Regions from separate parts of the Homo sapiens genome. Here all the other regions are linked to region 3. Evidence: promoter capture Hi-C in 16 types of primary human blood cells and fetal thymus (Javierre and others, 2016). All regions are on one chromosome and are shown on one strand. Each heading gives the region's core, a stretch centred on a gene start or on the middle of the fragment in contact. The rest is flanking DNA. Distances are from core to core; before and after follow the strand shown. Region 1 overlaps LOC105378379 (a long non-coding RNA gene). Region 2 overlaps ZMIZ1-AS1 (ZMIZ1 antisense RNA 1). Region 3 holds the start of POLR3A (RNA polymerase III subunit A).

Region 1 (2,797 bases), core at 230-2,729, 630 kb before region 3:
AATTAGAGGGAACGAGCCTCCATGGACTCCAGAGCTTCTCCCCTCCCAACATCCCTTATGTTCCTGATAATGAGTCCTGTCTTTAAACATTACAACCCTCAATTAGCTCATAATTGCTCTCCATGCCGTATGAATTATGCATTGTGCAATGCAAATTCAGGTTCCCTGGCACTGGACAAATCACAAGCTGTTGAAGAAGCTGGAGTAATTACCAAAACAATCCTAGGAGCCCTGGGGAAAATGAACATTATCTGGTCTACAGCCCATTCTTCTGCCTTGTCTTCCCCACTTTCAGCCTGGTTCACCCCCCACCCCACTCAGCTTCAATACATAGTTGCTGGGTTTTGAGCAAGGACTGCATGCCAAACAAGGTGCTAACTGACGTATATCATACTTTAACATTTATAGTCTTCAAAGTCCTGTGGGGCAGGGGCCACAATTCTACATATCACATGACTTCACTTTAAATACCCTCTCCTCCTGGAATTTCTGAGTTTCACCATGCTGGGGCTTGGGTGAGGTTCACCTTTGTGGTATAAATGGAAAAGAGGGATTATTTCAGCAAGTGACAAATGTCAAGACAAAGGATGGCTTAAAACTATTAAAAAAAAGACAAAGAGGGCACTTTAGAAGCATTCAATGTGTTAATTACAAGGCAAATTACATTTATTGAAACTACTTCTTGAAAACCTCCAAGGCAGGGTTAAGATATATATCCAAAAGCATTAAAATCACACTTCCTCCCATATATTCAAATTCATGCATGCAGATTCTCAACAGTCTAACCTTTCATACAATTTTCTCAAAGCAGTTGGTTAATACTGTACATACACACCATACATACACGTGTGTGTAATGATTATATAGAGTTTAATGGTTATATCAACTTTAATGGTAAGAAGAGGACATGTGTCCCTCCATGATTCCTACCTTCCTTCCACCACCATTTCTAGTTTCTAATTTGGAGAGTAACACATCACTGCAATTATGCTCATATCTAGGCTGTTTCAACAAGATATATACAGATTTTTATATCCTAAGCATTTGCAGCAAAAAAAATTATTCTCTACAAGTTCATTCAGCTTAAGGAGGCAAATGTTTCTCTCTAGCCACTATGAGTTTTTGAGATAAATGTATAGCCTTGTCTTCTTTGCCCTGCCCATCGTTCATGAAAATCATGCTATGCTAACTGTTGCTTCAAACTTTTAATTATTGTGAATTTCCTCATTAATTTATTCATCCTTTAAATGTTTATTTAGGACCTATTATGTGACAATATATTGAACTAGGAACTGGTGTTGCCAAAGATAAATAAGGTGTATGTGGTCTTGTTTGTTTGTTTGTTTGTTTGTTTGTTTCTTTATTTCTTTGATGGAGCTTCACTCCTGTCACCCAGGCTGAAGTACAGTGGCACAATCTCGGCTCACTGCAACCTCTGCCTCCTGGGTTTAAGTGATTCTCCTGCCTCACCCTCCTGAGCAGCTGGGATTACAGCACCTGCCACCATGCCTGGCTAAATTTTGTATATTTAGTAGAGACAAGGCTTCACGAAGTTGGCTAGGCTGGTCTTGAACTCCTGACCTCAGGTGATCCACTTGCCTTGGCCTCCCAAAGTGCTGGGATTACAGACGTGAGCCACCGCGCCAGGCTGTGATCTTGTTTCTAAGTAGCTCAGGGTCTAGAGCTTATAGAAGGCCACTTTAGCTTGAACCAATTACATGTGTTTAGGGTTCAGTAAAGTAAAGGACTCTGAAGAGGCAGGCTTGAGTTCAAGTCCTAGAGGCACTATTTAGTAATTATAAGGCTCAGTTTCCTCATCAGTAAAATGGGAGTAAGTGACAGTATAAACATACAGTGTAATGAGCACTCTTTGTATAGCATTTTAGAATCCTTTTATGCTTCTTGAATGTCATGCATGTACCAATTTAAATTTTTACTTTAAAAAATGAACAAGCAGACACCGTTTTGAAATGAATGCTGACATGGAATGGATCCCAGGGACTCCTTTTTCCTCCTGCTCTCTGTCCAAGGACAATTCACCTATCTTGTCTGATTCCCGCTCTCTTCATCAGACAAAAGGTGAAATTGAACAAGTGACCTTTAAGGTAGCTTTGATATTGGAAGGTCAATGATTTTATTTGTAGGTAACAAATCACAAACCCCTCTGGTGGTCTTCCTATGGGCAGGAAATCTGATTGGGGTCAGCCCAGTGGGGTAGAAGAAGGGTTATGATGGGTGGGCGTTGCCTAGCGGCTTGTGAGTGATGTATCCAAAGAGGTGGCAAGAGAGGGAGGCAAGGCCAGGCATTGAGAGACATAAGATCATGTATCAAACTTGACGGGTGAAATAGAGTTTAAATAGAAGAGCAAAATCACAGTTGGTAGCACAGGAGTACAAAAGATTGATGTAGGGTCCAGGCAGATGAAGCCTGTTTCTTCACATGGAAATTTGTTCATTCATTCACTCATCCAACAAATATTTAGTTAGTGCCTATTTAGCCAGTCCATGCTAAGTATTTGGGAAGCAGTATGAACAAATAGGCATGGCCCTTGTCCTCATGAGATTGACAGTCTAGTGAGAGAATCAGACATTTATAAAGAAACTCTTAGGGCTATATAATTATCAGCCCTAATGACTGCTCTCACAGACTATCCCAGGCTGTCCTAGAAGCAGAAAAAGCAGACTAAATCTAGTCTGCAGGCAGGGAACCAGTCCAGGAGGAAGTGACATATAAGCTGTGATATAAAGGATGCACTGGAATTAACTAAGTCAAGTCAAGGGAACAACTTCCATAAAT
Region 2 (2,700 bases), core at 37-2,536, 940 kb before region 3:
AAAGGACAGTGTACTCTCTGTCTACCCCCAGCCCTGCCTTGAACCCTGATCTCAAGGCCCAGAATTTTGCCTGTCCAAGCCTGTTGGTCCATGACCCAGGGAAGTGCTGGATCCTGTGGACCTTGGCTGGGATTTGAAAACTCAGAAGCAGTCCTACACGGTACATAGGGGTCTCTGAGTCCCAGGGAAGCATGGGGTCTGGGCTGTCCATTAGAGGTAAGCTGGTCTAGGAAGGACAGCTGTGACAGCATCTTTCTGGATCTTTCCTTGTGGGGAGAAGCCTCCACCCCTCAGGTCATACTCTGGCTGTACCTGGGCTGGTCTCCATTTGAGGACAATTTTTTTTTTTTGAGACAGAGTCTTGATGGAGTGCAGGGATGCAATCTCAGTTCACTGCAACCTTGACCTCCTGGGCTCAAGAGAACCTCCCACCTCAGCCTCCCAAGCAACTGGGACTATAGGCATGTGCCACAATGCCCAGCTAATTTTTCTTTTTTTTTTTTTTGTGGAGATGGGGTCTCACTATGTTGCCCAGGCTTGCAGACAAATTTTGTTTGGCCTACGTGAGATTAAAAAAAAAAAAACCATTATTTACAAATGAAGGCATTTCACATGAAAGTGTGAATTTTCAATTTCCCTCAAATAACTGGGGAGTTTGGCCACACTGGGCTCACGTTTTTATGCGGCAACTGTGGGCTGGAGCTGAGCAGCAGAGGCCCCTACAGGCCGGGTGTATGTTCTCCAGTTTACCACAGTCTCCACTGCTCCCTATTGCACTGGTTCTCAAACTTGAGCATATGGGAAAATCCCTTGGAGGGCTTGTTAAAATACAGATTAGTGGACCCCACCCCAGAGTCTCTGCTTCAGTGGGTTTGGGGTGGGCCTGAGAATTTGCCTGAGAATTTCTGACAAGTTCTCGGGTGATACTGCTGCTGCTGGTTTAGGGCCCCATTTTGAGACCTACTGGGCCGCCTGATGCTGAGGCTGACTGGTCATCTCACTTGGCCTGTTACTTTTCTGTATAGTAGGGAAATATTTCTCTGTACACCCAACTCTAGCAAAAGTAGGAAAATTTAAAAGGACCGAGAATATCATTTGTTCTAGCAAAATGGAGAAGTATATATTTCTTTCTTTTTTTTTTTTTTTTTGAGACCGGAGTCTTACTCTGTTGCCCAGGCTGGAGTGCAGTGGTGTGATCCTGGCTCACTGCAACCTCTGCCTCCCGGGTTCAAGTGATTCTCCTGCCTCAGCCTCCTGAGTAGCTATGATTACAGACGTGCACCACCATGCCTGGCTAATTTTCGTATTTTTAGTAGAGATGGGGTTTCAGCATGTTGGCCAGGTTGGTCTCAAACTCCTGATATCAGATGATCTGCCCGCCTCGGCCTCCCGAAGTGCTGGGATAACAGGCGTGAGCCACCGTGCCCCGCCAAAAATATATATTTCTTTGGAGACAGAAAAGATATTCCCTTGTGGTTACTTGCAAACGATTTGCATATATGTCAGATAAACACAACTTCAGGAGCACAGGGAGGCCTGCCCTGAGCATGGCCTGAGGATATGCCACGTGGCCACTCTGTGCACTTGTTCCTTCACATGTCCACCTCACTCGTTGACTTTGTCTGCTTGACCCTGCAGGTGTTTTGAGTGTGTGACCCCGGCCAGCTACAGTTTATTAATTAATTGAACAACCATGATTTGAACCAGTTCTATTGCTGCACTGTGTTAGGATATGAAGACAGTGAATAAGACAGACCTAATCCCTACCCTCCTGAGGCTCCCAGACTATTGGGACAGACAGACAAAACAAATCGAACTAGTAGGTGAAAAAAGGAATTGCACGTTGTGATAACACATCAGGATGCTGAGATGGAGAATAACGGGTTATATGAGGACCTCTTTTAGTCTGGGTGGTCAAAGAAGCCTCTCTAAGGTTCCCATCCTATGAGGGGTGGGATTGGGAAGCAAATGAGATCCAGATCTCTAGAGATCTCACCCCGCTTCAAAGCCCAGCTTGCGTTCACCAAGCACAGGGAGCATCTTGACCTTCTGACCTGTGTGTGCGCGCTCTGACCTCAGCTCTGCCTGCTGCCCTGTACCTCAGGGCCAGCCACACAGAGCCTCTGTTGTTACTCAGTGGGTTCGTGAGGCTCCACGTGTGTTTGAGAGGCCACGCCGCACCCTGGCAGTTTACTTTGTCTCCCTGGACCTCAGAACCTTTAGGGCCATTTTGCCCTACGCTCACGTAGAGATGGGAAACTCAATCCAGTGCTTCTGGTGTTCCCCACTTCCCAGTCAGTCAAAGGGCAGGACTTTTCCTTTCTCTTAACTTTCCTCTGAGCCCAGCCCAAGGCTGAGCACAGAGCAGGGCATGGGACTGGGAGCTGACACTTCTCACATTTGCATCTCCTAAAATGGCTAAAGAATCTTGGCTGGTTACAGCAAACCAGTGGCACATCCTTCCTGTACTGTGCTTAACATCATTCATCAATCATGACCCTTTCCCGTTGAGCCCCCATATAGCATCAGAATCCTTCTCAACACAGGAAACTGATGCCAACGAATTGGAGTTGACTTCTGGGATTAAATTTAATATCAGGTGGGCCTCATCTGGCTTACTGACTAAGTAGAGACCTGAGGCATGGACCCAGGGTGGGATTTCAGGCACCTGAGCTAGGCGTGGAGGTAGGAGCCAGACTG
Region 3 (2,700 bases), core at 134-2,633:
CCCATGATGGCACTGTGATTTCATAACTTTTGCTCTTAACCTCTAGATAAGTCACACACGATCCAACCCTTGTTGGTATAATATTGTAAACATCAGAGCCGGGTGTGGTGGCTCACACCTGTAATCCTATCACTTTGGGAGACTGAGGCGGGCGGATCACGAGGTCAGGGATTCGAGACCAGCCTGGCCAACATAGTAAAACCCCGTCTCTACTAAAAATACAAAAATTAGCTGGGCGTGGTGGCGGGCGCTTGTAGTCCCAGCTACTCGGGAGGCTGAGCCAGGAGAATCGCTTGAACCCGGGAGGCGGAGGTTGCGGTGAGCCGAGATTTCGCCACTGCACTCCAGTCTAGGCGACAGAGCGAGACTCCGTCTCAAAAAAAAAAAAAAAAAAAAAACAAAAAAAACCCATAATGTTGACTATATATATATATATATATATATATATATAGTCAACATTATTTCATGATTAAGTGATGGAGTACCGAAATGAGTTAGAAAAACCTGATATGCCTCGTTTGTCTGTGACATTGTGTTTTGCTAGTGAGGATCCATGGCGTCTGAAAATGAGATAGCGTCCCTTCTTAAAAATTGAAAGTTGTTAAACACTTTTGTTAAGTTCTGTTTTGAGTTTCTCACAAATAATGAGGACTTAGTTCTAATTCTAAGCGCTAAGCCCTGTGGTGATGTGATTTCCTTGCTAGGCTCATGCACTAATATATCACACTAGGATCACCTCCCACAAGTTCTCACAGACTGTAGACAACTTATTTCAAGACATGAATGATCTTTACTTTCCATTCTCCCTTTTCTTCTGTAGATTACCATGGCTGTTTTCACTCTAACAGATTTTCAACTGTTTTTGTAATCAATAATGTAAGTTTAATTCTTCCCCCCTCCCTCCAAATAACTTCATGAACTGGAGGCACATGTGCGCCCATATTTTCCGCTCTGTTTTCCTTTGTTGGTCCTCCACAGATAGTGCCCTCTGTTGGATGGGCCGGTTCATTTTAGCTTCCACCTTCCCTTAAAACAATTAGAAGCTCTTAATTTAGATGGTACTGATGTTAATGATGATGATTTTCCATTTTATGCAAGTTTTGGCCCTCTGCTTGTCTAAAAGCCTTGAGGCAAAGAGTTATATGCAGTTTCTCTGCGGGTGTCTGATTACGTGGAGAAATTGACCAGAAATGGGATTTTTAAAATACAGCACACGCCTCGGTGCGGCTTCCAGTAAGCGCCACCAGGTGACGGTGCGGGGAAAGGGAAAAAAAAAAAAAAAAAAGGCATGCCGGAAGTCTCTCTTGACAGACAGACGCGCGGGCGAGTAGCGGAAGAGGAAGCGGACACGTGGGACACTCTACGGTGGCCGAGAGGATGCCGCAGATGTGTTAGCGGCGAGTCCAGAAGCAGCCCCAGGAGGTGCTGGGGGCATCGTTTCTCTAATCTGGCCTCCCGAGTGCCAAGGAGGCGTCCCGGCAGCGGTCATCATGGTGAAGGAGCAGTTCCGGGAGACGGATGTGGCCAAGAAAATGTAAGACGGAGTAAGAGTGGCCAAAGGGCTGAGAAATAGGGCAAGGGGTCCGAGGTCAGCGGTCCCGGGTCTTGCAGGGTCAGAGATGGGGTGCAATGGGAAGGGGAGGGCCAGTAGTCCATAGGTGTGACCAGCGCCCAGAACTACCAGCGTTGGTCAAAGAGCATTGGTCAGGCTGAGGGGATTTCAGCACCTCGAGAGGTCCCTGGACTTGGGCGGAGAAGTCGGAGTGGCCTGAGCCTTAATGATTTGTGCACCCTGGGCCAAAGCTCGCATTCTCCTGAAGTCATACAATGATCCCTGTTCTTCAGCGAACTATCCCCTGCTGCAGCGAGGGGAGCAATCTGGGGCGGGGACTGTCTCTAATTCTGTCAGCCGCAGAGCGTCTGACACGGAGGCAGTAGTTGCTTACCAAAAGGATGGGGTTGCCCACTAGAAAGCTGTACCACAGGCCGACGGATGGCAGTGTCAGAAATAAAGCTGCTATCCGGACTTTTGCCTTCAGAAATACGTTATTAGGCGGTGGCTCCTTCTTAGAGTTCTCGGTAAGAAAGTGAATCCAGCCGGGCGCGGTGGCTTACTCCTGTAATCCCAGCACTTTAGGAGGCCGAAGCGGGTGAATCTCCTGAGCTCAGGAGTTTGAGACTAGCCTGGGCAACGTGGCGAAACCCCGTCTCTATCAAAAATACAAAAATTAGCAGGCGTGGTGGCGCGCCCTTGTGGTCCCAGCTACTCGGGAGGCTGAGGCCGAAAAATCACTTGAGCCTGGGAGGCAGAGGTTGCAGTGGGCAACCTCCTGCATTCCACCCTGAGTGACAGAGTGAGACGGTGTCTCAAAAAAAAAAGTGAATTCATCATTCTTACAGCAGACACTGAGGAGGATACTGCGCGTTATTCCCAGTGTTGGACGTTAAAGATACGGTCTGAATAAAACTTTTACTGCCTAATCTAGTTGGAGAAGGTACACAAGTCAACACTGGGTACGACAAGTGCAATGACAAGGGTAGGTCCAGGGGGTTTTGAGAGCACATAATGGGTCCAGGCAAAAGAAAGCAGACCAAACTGCTTTTTTCAAGGAGCAGACCTGAGGGAGAGAACACAGGTGATCAGAAGGAAGCAGAAGACTTGAAGCTGTGTTAAGAAGTCATCTTGTAGGCAGTGAGGAA

Evidence for each region. Contacts are between HindIII fragments. The CHiCAGO score rates a contact against its expected background, and 5 or more counts as called.
Region 1: a contact is called between a fragment that was not itself captured here and the fragment with the promoter of POLR3A in region 3, in 1 of 17 cell types (M2 macrophages). The highest score is 7.0, in M2 macrophages.
Region 2: a fragment that was not itself captured here is called in contact with the fragment with the promoter of POLR3A in region 3 in 2 of 17 cell types (activated CD4 T cells and total CD4 T cells); the score reaches 7.0 in activated CD4 T cells.

What each region holds. Positions count from the first base shown.
Region 1 is chr10:78,661,234-78,664,030 of GRCh38, reverse strand. All of the region lies in intron 2 of LOC105378379 (a long non-coding RNA gene), which reads left to right. Among named protein-coding and RNA genes, the nearest start is that of LINC00595, 400 kb to the right of the region's middle. The HindIII fragment of the contact is 3,792 bases long and covers 1-2,797 here.
Region 2 is chr10:78,969,335-78,972,034 of GRCh38, reverse strand. All of the region lies in intron 5 of ZMIZ1-AS1 (ZMIZ1 antisense RNA 1), which reads left to right. Among named protein-coding and RNA genes, the nearest start is that of ZMIZ1-AS1, 97 kb to the left of the region's middle. The HindIII fragment of the contact is 3,571 bases long and covers 1-2,700 here.
Region 3 is chr10:78,028,198-78,030,897 of GRCh38, reverse strand. It overlaps POLR3A (RNA polymerase III subunit A), which reads left to right and starts at 1,383. Exons shown (of 31, transcript NM_007055.4): 1 at 1,383-1,534. The coding sequence starts at 1,491. RefSeq lists an enhancer at 1,214-1,463. The HindIII fragment of the contact is 13,008 bases long and covers 1-2,700 here.